Linked DNA regions of Homo sapiens: regions 1, 2, 3 and 4 are each linked to region 5. Evidence: promoter capture Hi-C in 16 types of primary human blood cells and fetal thymus (Javierre and others, 2016). All regions are on one chromosome and are shown on one strand. Each heading gives the region's core, a stretch centred on a gene start or on the middle of the fragment in contact. The rest is flanking DNA. Distances are from core to core; before and after follow the strand shown.

Region 1 (2,700 bases), core at 73-2,572, 1.5 Mb after region 5:
AATACCTCCGGAGTAACATTCAAGTGTGTGACCTACATAGATGCATGCAACTGTCTTCCTCAAGTATCATGTAAATTACTGAATTGATGGCCTAATTTTCTATCTTGATGCTTCTGCTGGAGAATAGGCTTAGCAAAGAACTAACTACATACATACACACACACACACACACACAATTGAGTGCATGTAAAACTGGTAACATCTGAATAAATTTGGATTATACCACTGTCAGTTTCCTAGTTGTAATATTGTACCATAGTTATGCAAGATGTTCCCATTGGGGAAACTAGATGAAGGGCATACAGACGTCTCTGTATTATTTCTTATAACTGTATATGAATCAAGTATCTCAAAATAAAAAATTTAATATATGAATGTTTGTCGCTAAAATCTCCACATCCAACAAGTTTCACTAAAGCATCAGTGTGCCTCCTTTCTCTGTTATGTTGGATTAGGTTATAGATGCTTAACTTACTAATGCCCAAAGTAATAGCTAACCTTTTTTGACTGTTAGAGCACTTAGTTTTTAAGCACTTTCTATGTGCTGACTCATTTAATCCTCACAAGAAACCTAGGTAGTACGTTTCTCATTTTATGAGGAAACTGAGGCACAAAGAGGTTTAGTAACTTGTCCAAAGTTGATTTGGCCACTTCTTGATGAAGCTGGGATTTGAACTCAGCTTCTGAGCCTATACTGTAACTACTACTCTGTACTTCCTTTCAATAAACATTGTGGTGATTTCAATGTTTTTGTCTATTATCTTGAGATGCAGGCCATGTTACATTCAGAAAGGCTGTGGATTTTTATATGATCTGTAATTCCTAGAACTGTTTACAGAGTGAAATAATGTCTCATTGGATGGGATTAGGACTAGGTTATCCCTGTTCCGTCTCATCCTAATAGTTTTTAATCTGCTTTTCAGCCTATCATAAACTGTTGGTTTTAGTTTTGTTGCTTAGCATAGTTACTCTTCTTTTCACTTCATCCCAGTTTGTTCCTTACACTTTTGGTAAGCTTCATCAGCAAGCTGCAGTCCCTGGGCCAAATTCGGCTTGCTCCCTGTTTTGAACAGGCTATGAGCTAAGTGTGGTTATTATATCTTTTTAAAAAATTGAAAAAGTCCAAAGAAAAATATTCTGTGGCACCTGAAAAGTGTATGGACTCTGATTTCAGTGTCCATAAACAGAGTTTTATTGGAACACAACCATATTCACTCAGTTATGTATTGTGATAACTGCTTTTGTTCCGCCGAGGCCGAATTGATTAGTTACAGCAGAGACTGGATGGCCCAGAAAGCCTATAATATTTACTATCAGACTCTACAGAAAAAGATTGCCAATCCCCGTTGTGGAGTACCAAGGTGAGGGAAGAACAAAGGGCAGGCTCTTCTGCAAGCTCATTCTCCAAGTGTAGTTTCTCTTTGATGATTTATAAGAGATAGTGAATTTACGTGATAGTTTTGAAGAATATGATGAAAAACGTTAGAAAAAGCACCATCAATGCAAAATCATGAGCCTGTATGTTGAAAAAGTAGTCAAAGGGTGGCAACTTTTTAATAAAATACTAATTTTCCCAAGGAGCCAAAAGCTGAGGCTGGGCCTTCTCCCCCACCTCTTTCCCCAAGCTTCCTTTTCTTGTTGTGAAGACTCAACTAATCCTCAAATGAAACTGTTTTCTGATAATAACCCTTTAGATGCAATTTCTAGTTTAAGGAGGGCCCTAATCCTTCAATGAAAAGATTTACTGAGGCTTCCTTTGGACCTGAAAAAAGCAAGGGAATTGCTAACATATCTGAAATTCAAACTGGCTGTCAATCCTACATATTGGTTATAATAGAATGATTGGAGAGTTGGGAATAATTAGAGATAAAAATAGCATTGTGTCTCTAACTCAAATACATTTGCTAATTGGACTTCTCTGCTATAAACCTTGTTCGGGCCTGGTCATTTTTCAGGAAAATAATTATTTATGGGTTCTTCTCTTATAATGCTGTTCGCTTTATTTTGTTTTTCAATGCAAAGTGTAACCACTTATAGAGTTATAATATTTAATCAAATAACAAATATGCTTATTGGGAAATAATTTGTACCTATTTACACTTAAACATTATTTTATTAGAGTTTGGATGTCATTAGTGATAACATTAAATATTGAAATAAAGAGACTCCAATAACATTACCTGGGGTCCAGAGCTTTTATTAATTTTGTTTTCATTAGAAGAATGCTTTATTTGCCAGTTTTTTGTTTTGTTTTACTTTTTGCTTCATTCAGTATTCAAAAATATGCTGTCAAACAAGATTCAGATATCATAGATTGTCAGTAACTAGTAATTCCAAAATGTAGTCCCTTATGTGCCTGTGCATAAGCAATCCAGTGGTTGAAGTCTTGGAAGCCATGCAGTGTATTCAAGTTAAATGTATGGCACACTAGTTTATTAACATGTCAAGCATCCCAAAATGAACTATTAAATGAATACAAAGAATCCTCAAGTCATCTCTGGAAGTTATTTAACTCCTTTAGACTGTGGGATAGACTGGCAGTAATGTCACCATTAGAAGAAACATGCTAGCAGCCTAAAATAAATAAATAAATAATAGAAGGCAGCTTTAAATTAGTATACTGAGAGAATTTGGGTTCATATTTATCTCTGGGCATTCCCACCATTTAAAATAAATAAATAATCAATAGTTAAGAAAAAT
Region 2 (2,700 bases), core at 139-2,638, 1.3 Mb after region 5:
GACTCTTTATTTATTATCTCATTTAACCCACAAACCACCGTATAAGATGGTATTTTTCAAATGTTTACATTTTTTCCTACACATTTTACAGAGGAAAGAGCTTATTCTACTAAGAGTTGGGTGACCATGCATTCTGGTTTGGCCAAGAGAGTCCTGATTTATACATGTTATCCTGGCATAATTATTAATGACACCACTATTCACTCTCAAAAGTATCCTGGTTTGGGTGATTATTATGCTCACCCTGGTTAAGAGGTTTGTCCACATAGCTTGTAAATGGCAGAGCCATGGAGAGAAGCTGGGTCAGTCTAACACCAGAGCTAGCAACTTCACCTCACTGAAACCCTCACTGTCTTAGCAGTTCAGCCATAATGATGACTGACTCAAGTCTATTCCTCTGGTATCTGCCAGCTTACATCTGGAAACTGACTTAAGATTTGGAGATGCTCAAGTGTATTAAGACTAGGAAATAAAACTTCAGTAAATTCAGGTTGTATTTCAAAAAGACTGGAAAAAAAACCTGAATTGTGCAAAAACCTGGAAAAAAAAAAAGGAGAGAGAGATGCTATTCAAAGCAAAGTCTCTGAAATTATTGGATAGAATTTAAAACAATCATTTTACATACTTAAATATCAACTTATTTATTTAACTGCTATTGCATTTATTGAATTTACACACTCAAGAGTCCAAGATTCTATCCCTGTTCTCAAGTAAAAGGAACAACTTCACAGTTGATATATCCTTGCTCTTTTCCATTTATTTTACTAACAGTAAATAGCAACATTTACTTCTTTTATGCAACAGAAACGATAGCTTATATTTCCAAAGAGGGTCAATTTGGGTAAAAGGGAAGTCAACAAAAACATAAATTCCTTCTTTCACATTCCTCCCTTCTCCCAGCAGTAGGAAATATATACATTAGCAGCACAGAAATGTAAAGGACCTAAGGATGAAAACTGTAGGGATAATGCAAATAGGATTTCTTATATTTACTCATTATGAGTAGATTTCTTGAGAAAAGAGACAATCACCTGGGTTCTTTAGCTTGTATTAGCTGTTCTTTCCTATTGCTTAAGACTAGGAATTCAAGCACATTCTCCTTAAGCAAATCAGATTGCAAAAAAAAAATATGAACTTAGAGAGGTGGTTGTTTGCTCTTATAAAAGAATCACCATTAAATTATTTTGATAAAATATATTGACTAAATCAAAGGAGGGAGAAATAACTAGCAAAGAAAAATGATAATAATTGAAGGCATAGCAAATTATAAGAACAGAGATTTTAAAAGATTCATGGGGGAAAAAGCAATTTGAATAAACACATAGATGAGAAAGAAGAGGACAAGTAGAAATAAAGCCTTCTTATGTACTAATTAGAGAGTGTGGTGGTGACATTAAGACACTGTTCCCCCAAACTAGAATATACTGAGTGAAGTCAGAGAACCTGTAACTCATACGGGATAAATCCATTTTAGACAGTGAAAAACAGATGTTTTCAGTTGCTCGATTGCCCTGGAGAGAACTGTGGAAGCAATAATGTACACCCGACCTAGGAGACAGTTCTACTGAGTCCAAGGAGAATTTAAAGATAGAGATAGGAAATTCACTAACTCATAAGGGAAGGAAGGAATTGGGTGGACCTCAGCCATCTGCCTAACATTATCTAGAACCACACCTAAACCATCCCAAGCAGATGAGACCTCCAGAGATGTAGCTCCATGATCTCCTCTGGTCACCGTGTTCCGAGGTGGAACACTGGCCAGAATGTTTTCCTTCTTACTAACCGACAGTCATGTGCGGATTATTCTCTCTCATTCTGTTTGCTGTGGAAAGAAGAGCAGGCATGTCTCTGGTCGTCTTATTTTCTTATGGGGTCTGACAGGCACTGGCATTACTCTCCAGTGTCAAGATACCATTCCTGGATGCACATTATCAGGAGCTCCCACTGCCATCTCTAGGTTTATTCATTCGACTCCTTTAAGGCTTTCCGCCTGAAGGGGAATTCCTGGGCTTTAGGAATTAGTGCATTTTGAGAAAATAATTTTTTTTTTTTTTTGGAGGGCAGTGGCGCAATCTCAGCTCACTACAAGCTCTGCCTCCTGGGTTCATGCCATTCTCCTGCCTCAGCCTCCCGAGTAGCTGGGACTACAGGCGCCCACCACCACGCCCGGCTAATTTTGTTTTTGTATTTTTAGTAGAGACGGGGTTTCACCGTGTTAGCCATGATGGTCTCAATCTCCTGACCTCGTGATCGGCCCGCCTCGGCCTCCCAAAGTGCTGGGATTACAGGCGTGAGCCACCGTGCCCAGCCGAGAAAATAATTTTTAAAAGTTAACACGAATGAAATAAAGCCTCTCATAATTAAAAACACATTAAGACAAGACACTTGAAGTGAAACTTCATCCCAGTGGTGGCTCTCCAGGTATGGGGTCCAACTAGGGAGCCACCCAAATCTGTTAGAGTTTGATTGTCAGACAACAGAGATGCAGCAAAAAACTCCAGGCAGGCCAACATTTGATTAAGGTGGCTGTGGATTTTGAGAGCTTTTTCTGTTGTCTCAAATCCTGTTTCGAGCACCCTTTTTGGTAGAGTAAGGACTACTTTTACTAATACTATACATAATAATAGTAATGATAATGATAGAAAATTCCATAGTTACCAATTATTTGTGCTTACTGTGAATGGTAGGCAGAATAATGAC
Region 3 (2,700 bases), core at 137-2,636, 1.5 Mb after region 5:
CACTCTTATTAAATATTTCAGGAAGTTCTTGAAAACATAGTTAAAAAGAAAATTAAACTGCAGAAAAATAACAGACAGAATTACTTCTCTTTGTAGCTAATTTAATTGTGAATTACTAAGAAACCCCAAGTAACTAGCAAAAATTACTAGAATTAATAGGCTTCAAATGATGGTGGAAAAATAAAATAAACATATACAAAATTCTTCACTCTACTAGCAATAACCAGCTATAAATTTTGTAAGAATCTCATTCAAAATACATGTAAAAATTATTTTTAAAAGAAACTACAAAAAAGTTTAACAAAAAAGATACAAGACCCAAATAAAATTATAATATTTTATTGAGTACAGAAAACAAGTCCTGAACAAAAGGAAAAAATGCCAAATTTCTAAATGAGAAGACTAGCATAAGAATGTACCTGCTCCAAAAATTAATAGCTGATTTTTGTTATTTGCAGATTCAATACTTACAAATTTGCCTACTTGCAAAAATTTATTTGTAACCCTAAAATTAACACTCCTGGTGCTTTTTCAGTATTTGCAGACATAAGCAGAGTGGCAAAAAAATTTTGAGTTGCCTGATGCACGTGTTCCCAGCTGAGGTCAAACCAGATAGTGCTCTGTGTTACTGTTTCAGCCCTCATTCTATAAGCAAGTGTCCTTTTCGTGTCTATTTTGTGTCTTGTTTTTTTATATTTGTGCTTTTTGTTGGTGATTTTACTTTGGCAAATGGCCCCAAAGCACGGTACTGAATTGCTGTCTAGTGTTCCCAAGCACAGCAAGGCTACGATGTGCCTTAATGAAAAAATACACACGTTAAATAAGCTTCATTCAGGTATGATTTATATTGCTGTTGACCATGAGTTTAATGCTAATGAATCAACAATATATATTTAAAAAGCATCTTTATACAGAAACACATAAAACAAGGTTGTGCATTGATTGGTTGACAAAAATATTGTGGCCAGAGGCTTGCAGGAACCTAACCCTGTATTTTCTCTAGGAACAATGGGTTCAGTATTTCCTAATTCACTGTTCATGGTAGCCTTATAGAGCATAATCTACTGTATTTAAATTTAATGCATTTCCAGATAGAATCACAAGGTTTTCTAAATAGGATAAAATAATTTTGAAGGTATGTTGGAAGAATAGTTGTACAAGAATAGTAAAATTATGAGACTGAAGAATAGTGAGAGACATTAATATCTGAAGAACAGATGTTAATACAACAGATATTAACACTTACTATAAAACTACTATGACCAAATAATATAGTATAAAACGGGAATGAACATGTAGGTCTAAGGATGAGAATACAAAATATAATAATTGATCTAAGCATATATGGGAACCTAATATATGATAAAGGTGATATTTCAATTCATGGAAAAATAATGCATAATTGGCTATCCATCTGAAAGGAAAATTGGCCCTTATTTTGCCCCATATACTAAAACAAATTCCAAATTGATTGAAATTTAAATGTAAAAAGAATTTAAAATAAATATTAGAAAAAAGAACATCTCCTAAGGAAGAAAGAAAAACAAAAAATCATGAAGGAATAGACAGATATATATGATAGCATGTAATTTTAAACATTTTGTTATGGTAAATGATAGTATAAACAAAATTAAAAATAAGCCCTAGACTTAGAAAAATATTTTCGGTAATAAGATAAATGATGCTATTAAAAGGGTCCCTGAAAAATTGATAAGAAAAACTTGATGTGAGGTCAGAAGTGTTGGCTGCTGTGGAGAATTCAAAACAGGGACCTCCCTGGACATCAAGATGGAAGAGCAAATAGTTTCTCATGCTGGAGAAATGCTCTCCAGTGTGGTGGTCGTATCTTGTAAGGATTCAGTCCCACATCAAGTAGTGTCTTTGACAATGGAAGGAATTGCAATCCCCCAGCTCAGTGCCAAAAGTGTGGGCAGTTTTGAAGCTTTTTATAATTCCATTAAACCTATCCAGATTATCAACAGTGCCATAGAAAGGATGAAGCCAGGGAAATTTCCCTATGGCAAAACAAATTTATTTCGCATTTCTTCTGTATGTGAGGGGTAACAAAGTTCTGTATGAGACTTATTATCAGACATTCAGTATACACTACGCTGTGACATGAGGCAGTCTCTGTTGACCAAGGACTTGACAAAGGCCGGTGAATTTACCATCCACTCTGCTCCTCAGGAGGGGAAGTTGACTCCAAGTCCTGTGGACTTCACAGATTATACCTGCAACCTTACAGAATATCAAAGAGAGAGCCTTGCTCCCCAGATTTCTCATTCGAGAACACCCCAACTCAATGAATTGTGTCATCGTGCAGCTGCTTACAGGAGAGCTGGTGGTGAAAAGGCATGGGGCTGCAACTGGTGCACATGGAGACCTGTGGGTGTGCAAAAAGCTATGCCAATGATGCCACAGAGTTTCCTTATATTCAGATGCCCATGGGGACATTTGTAGGGGCCTCTCTGTCCCTATATACATGGTCTTCTCCAGGCTGTTTACCTGCCGCATGCTGAAGACCAACTTCAAAGTGGAATTTGAGGCCACCATCGACATGCGTCTTCATGCTAACCACCTGGTCACAGAGAACTTCCTATTGCAGCTCTGCAGGACTCAGCCCAGGAGGAGGGAAGCACAGAAAACAGGGGTGGCCTTGTGGATATCCTGCTGGTTATCGTTCATGGGGAACTAAAGCCA
Region 4 (2,700 bases), core at 94-2,593, 1.4 Mb after region 5:
CCAAATACTAGGTAGACAGGCATATTGAACAAAATAGTTGAATTTGGACAAATATTTGAACAAAGAATGAACACACATAATCGAAAAAATAGTCCTCAGGTCTGATTCACAACACAATTCAGCTATATATTTAATTTAAAAGACTTCATGAAATTGTGGGAGGGGTAAGGGGGAAAAAAGAAAGAGAAAGGAAGGACCCCAACAACAGTAAGACTCCTTACCATCTACATCTCATCTGTGTTTCTCTTATTATAACCCATGAAATATCTCTACCTGCAGTGCTTATTACAAATACAAATACCATCCTCACTCATTTTCAACAGCTACCTCACTAATTCTTACACACTTGACAACTTTAGAACTTTGTCCAATTATTATTTGGCCAATGCTTGAAAATGATTTAAAGGCATAACCCCAAGTCTTAGAACAGCTTAGAGCAGGAGTATAAATATTCAGATTCCAAAGACAAGGACTACTACCCACATCAACCTGCCTGTGACACCTCACAACTAAGAAACCAGTTTTTAGTAGATCAAAGATGAAAAGGTGAAACGTACAGCTCACAAATCAAATATCTGGGCACTAGAGGGAATAGGTGTGGTTGGAAAAATAACCCTTCTGGAATTTTCTCAGCATATTTTTAAATGGCAGTAACAACATTTCTTCCACTCCTAAAATTAATTTTAATAGTGAACTGAGGTAACATTTTTTGTCTTAGCAGATAGCTCAATTCCATTGACAACTGACTTGTCATCTTTATTAATTTTTACAAATGCATGTCTCCTAATATGAAAAGGTTGATTTTCACTTTATTGTGTGCTTTGCACATTTACAGCAGCAACAGGAAGAGCTTCTACTGAATAGATTTTAGTCTTCAAAAATGTGACTGCATCTTCCATCTCTAGTTTGTCCATCTCCCAGTTATTGACCTTACCAAAGAAAGAGGAAAATAATCAGTTTGTGAGACGATACTAACAAAAGAGCTAGTTTAGAGATCCAAACATAGTAAAGTAACATGAGGACAATAGCTTTTTGAAAGCAAATGTGACCTTATAACTACTCATATTTTAAAGGCATAATAAGACTACATGCTAGGGTTTAAGAAAGCTTTAACTGTGAAAATTATACAAATTTTAAAGGTCCTCTAAATGGTGCAAAAACTGCTTTCTTGAGAAAATCTTCCTTAGAATATATATAATCAGCAATATAAAAAACAAAGTCTTAAATAGTAGCCCACTAAGAGAAAGGAGTCATCTTAATCTCAATAGTCCACACGTAATCCATTTCCAATACTAAAGTATAATAATAGAAGACTTGGAATGTTTACATCTTACATTATGCGCAGGACCAAATGAGTGGCATTTAGATAGATTCCAACAGCAACATATATATAAATGTATTTGTAAGGTTCCTACTACCTAGAAACATCAGAAGAGGCTGTTCAAGAGAAGCTGTGGGGTACAAAATAAAATTGAAGCATAAGAGGGAAGAGAAAGACCCATCTTCTTAAAACCATCCAGCCTTTTCTGGCAACAAACATCCTGTAACAGCTTCACACAGGCCATGAAAACAAAGCTTTAACATCTTTCCTTCCCTTGTTCAAGATAACCTGGAAATTAAATATGGTTTTGTGTATCTTAAATATGAAAATATATTATTTGCATTCTTCTTCTTAGCAAAAAAGGATTAAAGCTGACCAGAACAACATTTGTAAAAGCTCTAGTAATGACAGTAATCAGCTGAGCAGAACCCAAATCGTGTACTAGCAATGTTCTTTTTCAAAGAAAACAGTAACTAAAGCACTCATTCCAATAATGCTGACAATTCCTCTAGTCCTAGTAACCAGTCTCAACCACAAGATTCCTGGCAGCTGTTAGAATGTACATCAGTAATTAAAGAATATTTCATTTGCATTTTTTTCTCACCAAGATCACATGAAAACCCATTGCATTCAAATGCCGCATTTTCATAGCAAGGAATCCTCTGGGGTGGCTTGAACCCAAACAATAAGCAGATCTGGAAACACATAGCACAGCTACTCTGAAAACAAAAATAAACAAAACAAGAACAGTTATTGATATTACTATTTAGTCTTGCTGCATTCTTGTTCTCTGGAGATTTCCAAGTTGAGCTCTCCACCGACCACAATCCTTGATATTCCTGTCTTAGTCCTTCACTTCTTTTACTTGGCCTCTGCAGATATTCCACTATACAAGGCTACTTTATAAATCAAAAATATACAACATTATACACAGTTACCTCTCAGTTCCCTTTAAGGATGGCTACATTTTTGAAGAGGAAAATTTTCAGACATGAAAGCACCAATTTTAAGGGTTTTCTGTGTAGTGCTGATTTCTGATCTGAGTATAATTATTTATTCTACCAGTAGTAGTAACGGTGTAAATAATACCAAATAGTAAATGCTCTTCTTACACATATCATCTCCCAGAGAAAGCAGCATTTAAAAAACAGAAATAGGAGTTTAAATACAAGAAAGAAAACACCAAGAGAAAGGCAAGACTGTTAAAATAAAATCTGTAAATATAACGAAAATGTGGAAGGTGTAATTTGTTTTTTCATTGTTCCTGGCACTTTGGAAATACTAAGTTTACTGGGAGAAAAAAAGAAAAAAAAAAGACATTTATATCCTTACTGCCTTCACCTATACTCTGGCTGTTATAAGACAAATTTTATGTTTTT
Region 5 (2,700 bases), core at 48-2,547:
AGCCACCCTACTGCTGGCAGTGAGCTCACTAAGAGAGCGTTCATAGTGGTATGGATGAAGGCTATGCATTAACTTCTACTTATTAAGGCTAATCCAGCTATTTCCACTGTAGAATGTCCAATCTGCCAGCAATAGGGACCAACTCTGAGCCCTTTTGGTCCCATGCCTTGAGAAGACCAATCAGCCACTTAGTGGTAACATTTGAGGCAGAGCAGGAACACCAAACAGCAGGCAGGACTCTGGACAGCCACCAGCAGAAGGAGGGATTTAGGCCCTTAGGAAGATCTGAAAGGGGGAAGAAAGCCACAACTATCTGTTTTTGCTCAGGTCAGAGCCAATTATTGAGGACCTGCAATGTGCCAACCCTCTGCTCTAGGGCTCAGGGATAGACATGAACAAGAAATAATACCCAGCCCCCAGAAGCCTACAAAATTCCAGGCAAGTATCAGTTTTATTCAAGACAAGCCCCCAAACACCAACAATGATGATCACAGAATTTTTTTTTTTTTTTTTTTGCGACAGGGTCTTGCTCTGTTGCCCAGGCTGGAGTGCAGTGGTGCAATCATGGCTCACTGCAACCTCGACCTCCTGAGCTTAAGCAATCCTCTCACCTCAGCCTCCCAAATAGCTGGGACTACAGGTATGCGCCACCATGCAGGGCTAATTTTTGTATTTGTTGTAGAGATGGGGTCTCACCATGTTACCTAGGCTGGTCTCTAACTCCTGAGCTCAAGCAATCCACCTGCCTCAGCCTCCCAAAGTCCTGGGATTATAGGTGTGCACCACCTCGCCTGGCTGATCACAGAATTTTGAATTTGAACTAAGCTTTATGGGTTTTAACACACTTTCACAGATTACTTCACTTGATTCCCTCTTCTTTAAGATTCCTTACTATTTAAATTCTGGCTTTTAGAACTAAAACACACACACACACACACACAAAAACACCACCAGTCCCTGAGCAGAATTCATTACTTAGTTTAATGACTTTTGAGAAGTCAATTAAGCAGAGTAAACTATAAAATAAAAGCACAGAGACAGAATTTCGCCCATCCTTTTGCTCAACTAAAAGTGTACTCTATTCATTTTGATGGCAACAACAGCTTTAGTGAATTAGAACAACCCGAACCTACCAGAAAGAATGAGAGTAAACCATTCAGCCAACCCCAGTGACCTGGGCACGGAGAGCAGCGAGCTTGCAAATCCCCTTACTCACCAAAATGGGCCCTTTTGTGTGATTTCCTGTGGAGGCAGCAGTCAGGGCTGCTATACATACAGTGACGTTCCCGCAGTCCCACACAGCAACCAGAAAACATCTGCTCACTTCCTTCAAAATGGGAAAGGTAAGTCCTGGGTACCGGATGCTCAGCCTTGGCCCTAATGCAGTGGCCTCAGTGGGGGCCAATCACTCCATGCTCCCACATCTTCCATTTTTCAGATCACCTTCTACGAGGACAGGGCCTTCCAGGGCCGCAGCTACGAATGCACCACTGACTGCCCCAACCTACAACCCTATTTCAGCCGCTGCAACTCCATCAGGGTGGAGAGCGGCTGCTGGATGATCTATGAGCGCCCCAACTACCAGGGCCACCAGTACTTCCTGCGGCGTGGGGAGTACCCTGACTACCAGCAATGGATGGGCCTCAGCGACTCCATCCGCTCCTGCTGCCTCATCCCCCCGGTGAGTGTGGCTCTGTCTTTGCCTTCCATCTTTTTGGAAATAAAAGCTATTTCATGATATTCTTTTTTTTTTTTTTTTTTTTTTTGAGGCGGAGTCTCGCTCTGTCCCCCAGGGTGGAGTGCAGTGGCATGATCTCGGCTCACTGCAACTTCCGCCTCCCGGGTTCAAGCAATTCCCCTGCCTCAGCCTCCTGAGTAGTTGGGATTACAGGCATGCACCACCATGCCCAGCCAATTTTTGTATTCATAGTAGAGACGAGGTTGCACCATGTTGCCCAGGCTGATCTCGAACTCCTGGCCTCAAGTGATCCGCCCGCCTCGGCCTCCCAAAGTGCTGGGATTACAGGTGTGAACCACGGCATCCGGCCTATTTAATCACATTATTCTTAAATCCCAGCTACTCGGGCGGCTGGGGCAGGAGAATTGCTTGCTTGAAGCCGGGAGATGGAGGTTGCAGTGAGCCGAGATCGTGCCACTGCACTCCAGCCTGGTGACAGAGTGAGACTCCATCTCAAAACGACAATAACAACAACAACAACAACAACAACAAACTTTTGCTTGCTTTGTCTTACTTTTCTATTTGATTATTCCTCCTGAGAAGATAGGATCCTGTCTTCTGATTTCTATTCTAATTTAATGGTCAGTACCTATTAGCTCACTTAGAGGTATAAATTAGAGAAAAGGCCAAATCTGAAACTAAAGTTTGAGATTCCATATTTTCTGGGCAGTGACTGCAGAATTCTTAGAATTGTGGTGTGTGGGAGGCATGGGATACAGTGTCATAAAAACAGAAGTTAATGAAGGTGATACTTGCTGCTGAGGGAAATAAATAAGTTGAGAGCAGGAGGCTAGAAAGGAAGCTTAAAAGTCAGATAGGTTGAAATTTGAACTGAAGGCTGGGTGCGGTGGCTCACGCCTGTAATCCCAGCACTTTGGGAGGCCGAGGTCAGGAGGTCAGGAGTTCAAGACCACCCTGGCCAATATGGTGAAACCCCCTCTCTACTAAAAATACAAAAATTA

The links. The method cuts DNA at HindIII sites, captures the fragments that hold promoters and counts their contacts. A CHiCAGO score of 5 or more calls a contact.
Region 1: a contact is called between a fragment that was not itself captured here and the fragment with the promoter of CRYGB in region 5, in 4 of 17 cell types (activated CD4 T cells, non-activated CD4 T cells, total CD4 T cells and 1 more). The highest score is 6.5, in activated CD4 T cells.
Region 2: a fragment that was not itself captured here is called in contact with the fragment with the promoter of CRYGB in region 5 in 1 of 17 cell types (naive B cells); the score reaches 5.5 in naive B cells.
Region 3: a contact is called between a fragment that was not itself captured here and the fragment with the promoter of CRYGB in region 5, in 6 of 17 cell types (naive B cells, non-activated CD4 T cells, activated CD4 T cells and 3 more). The highest score is 7.9, in naive B cells.
Region 4: a contact is called between a fragment that was not itself captured here and the fragment with the promoter of CRYGB in region 5, in 1 of 17 cell types (total B cells). The highest score is 6.1, in total B cells.

What each region holds. Positions count from the first base shown.
Region 1 is chr2:206,648,847-206,651,546 of GRCh38, reverse strand. FAM237A (family with sequence similarity 237 member A) reads right to left here. Exons shown (of 3, transcript NM_001102659.3): 3 at 2,182-2,700. Among named protein-coding and RNA genes, the nearest start is that of FAM237A, 7.7 kb to the right of the region's middle. The HindIII fragment of the contact is 610 bases long and covers 1,018-1,627 here.
Region 2 is chr2:206,816,744-206,819,443 of GRCh38, reverse strand. No RefSeq gene overlaps it. Among named protein-coding and RNA genes, the nearest start is that of MIR3130-1, 35 kb to the right of the region's middle. The HindIII fragment of the contact is 3,645 bases long and covers 1-2,700 here.
Region 3 is chr2:206,686,431-206,689,130 of GRCh38, reverse strand. The region is part of intron 9 of DYTN (dystrotelin); the gene reads left to right. It also overlaps the pseudogene VPS26CP1. Among named protein-coding and RNA genes, the nearest start is that of DYTN, 31 kb to the left of the region's middle. The HindIII fragment of the contact is 1,117 bases long and covers 828-1,944 here.
Region 4 is chr2:206,789,912-206,792,611 of GRCh38, reverse strand. It overlaps FASTKD2 (FAST kinase domains 2), which reads right to left. Exons shown (of 12, transcript NM_001136193.2): 11 at 1,926-2,040; 12 at 1-929. The coding sequence ends at 810. Among named protein-coding and RNA genes, the nearest start is that of MIR3130-1, 8.0 kb to the right of the region's middle. The HindIII fragment of the contact is 468 bases long and covers 1,110-1,577 here.
Region 5 is chr2:208,144,755-208,147,454 of GRCh38, reverse strand. It overlaps CRYGB (crystallin gamma B), which reads left to right and starts at 1,297. Exons shown (of 3, transcript NM_005210.4): 1 at 1,297-1,343; 2 at 1,439-1,681. The coding sequence starts at 1,335. The region is part of intron 2 of LOC100507443 (a long non-coding RNA gene); the gene reads right to left. RefSeq lists an enhancer at 1,482-2,105. The HindIII fragment of the contact is 1,715 bases long and covers 828-2,542 here.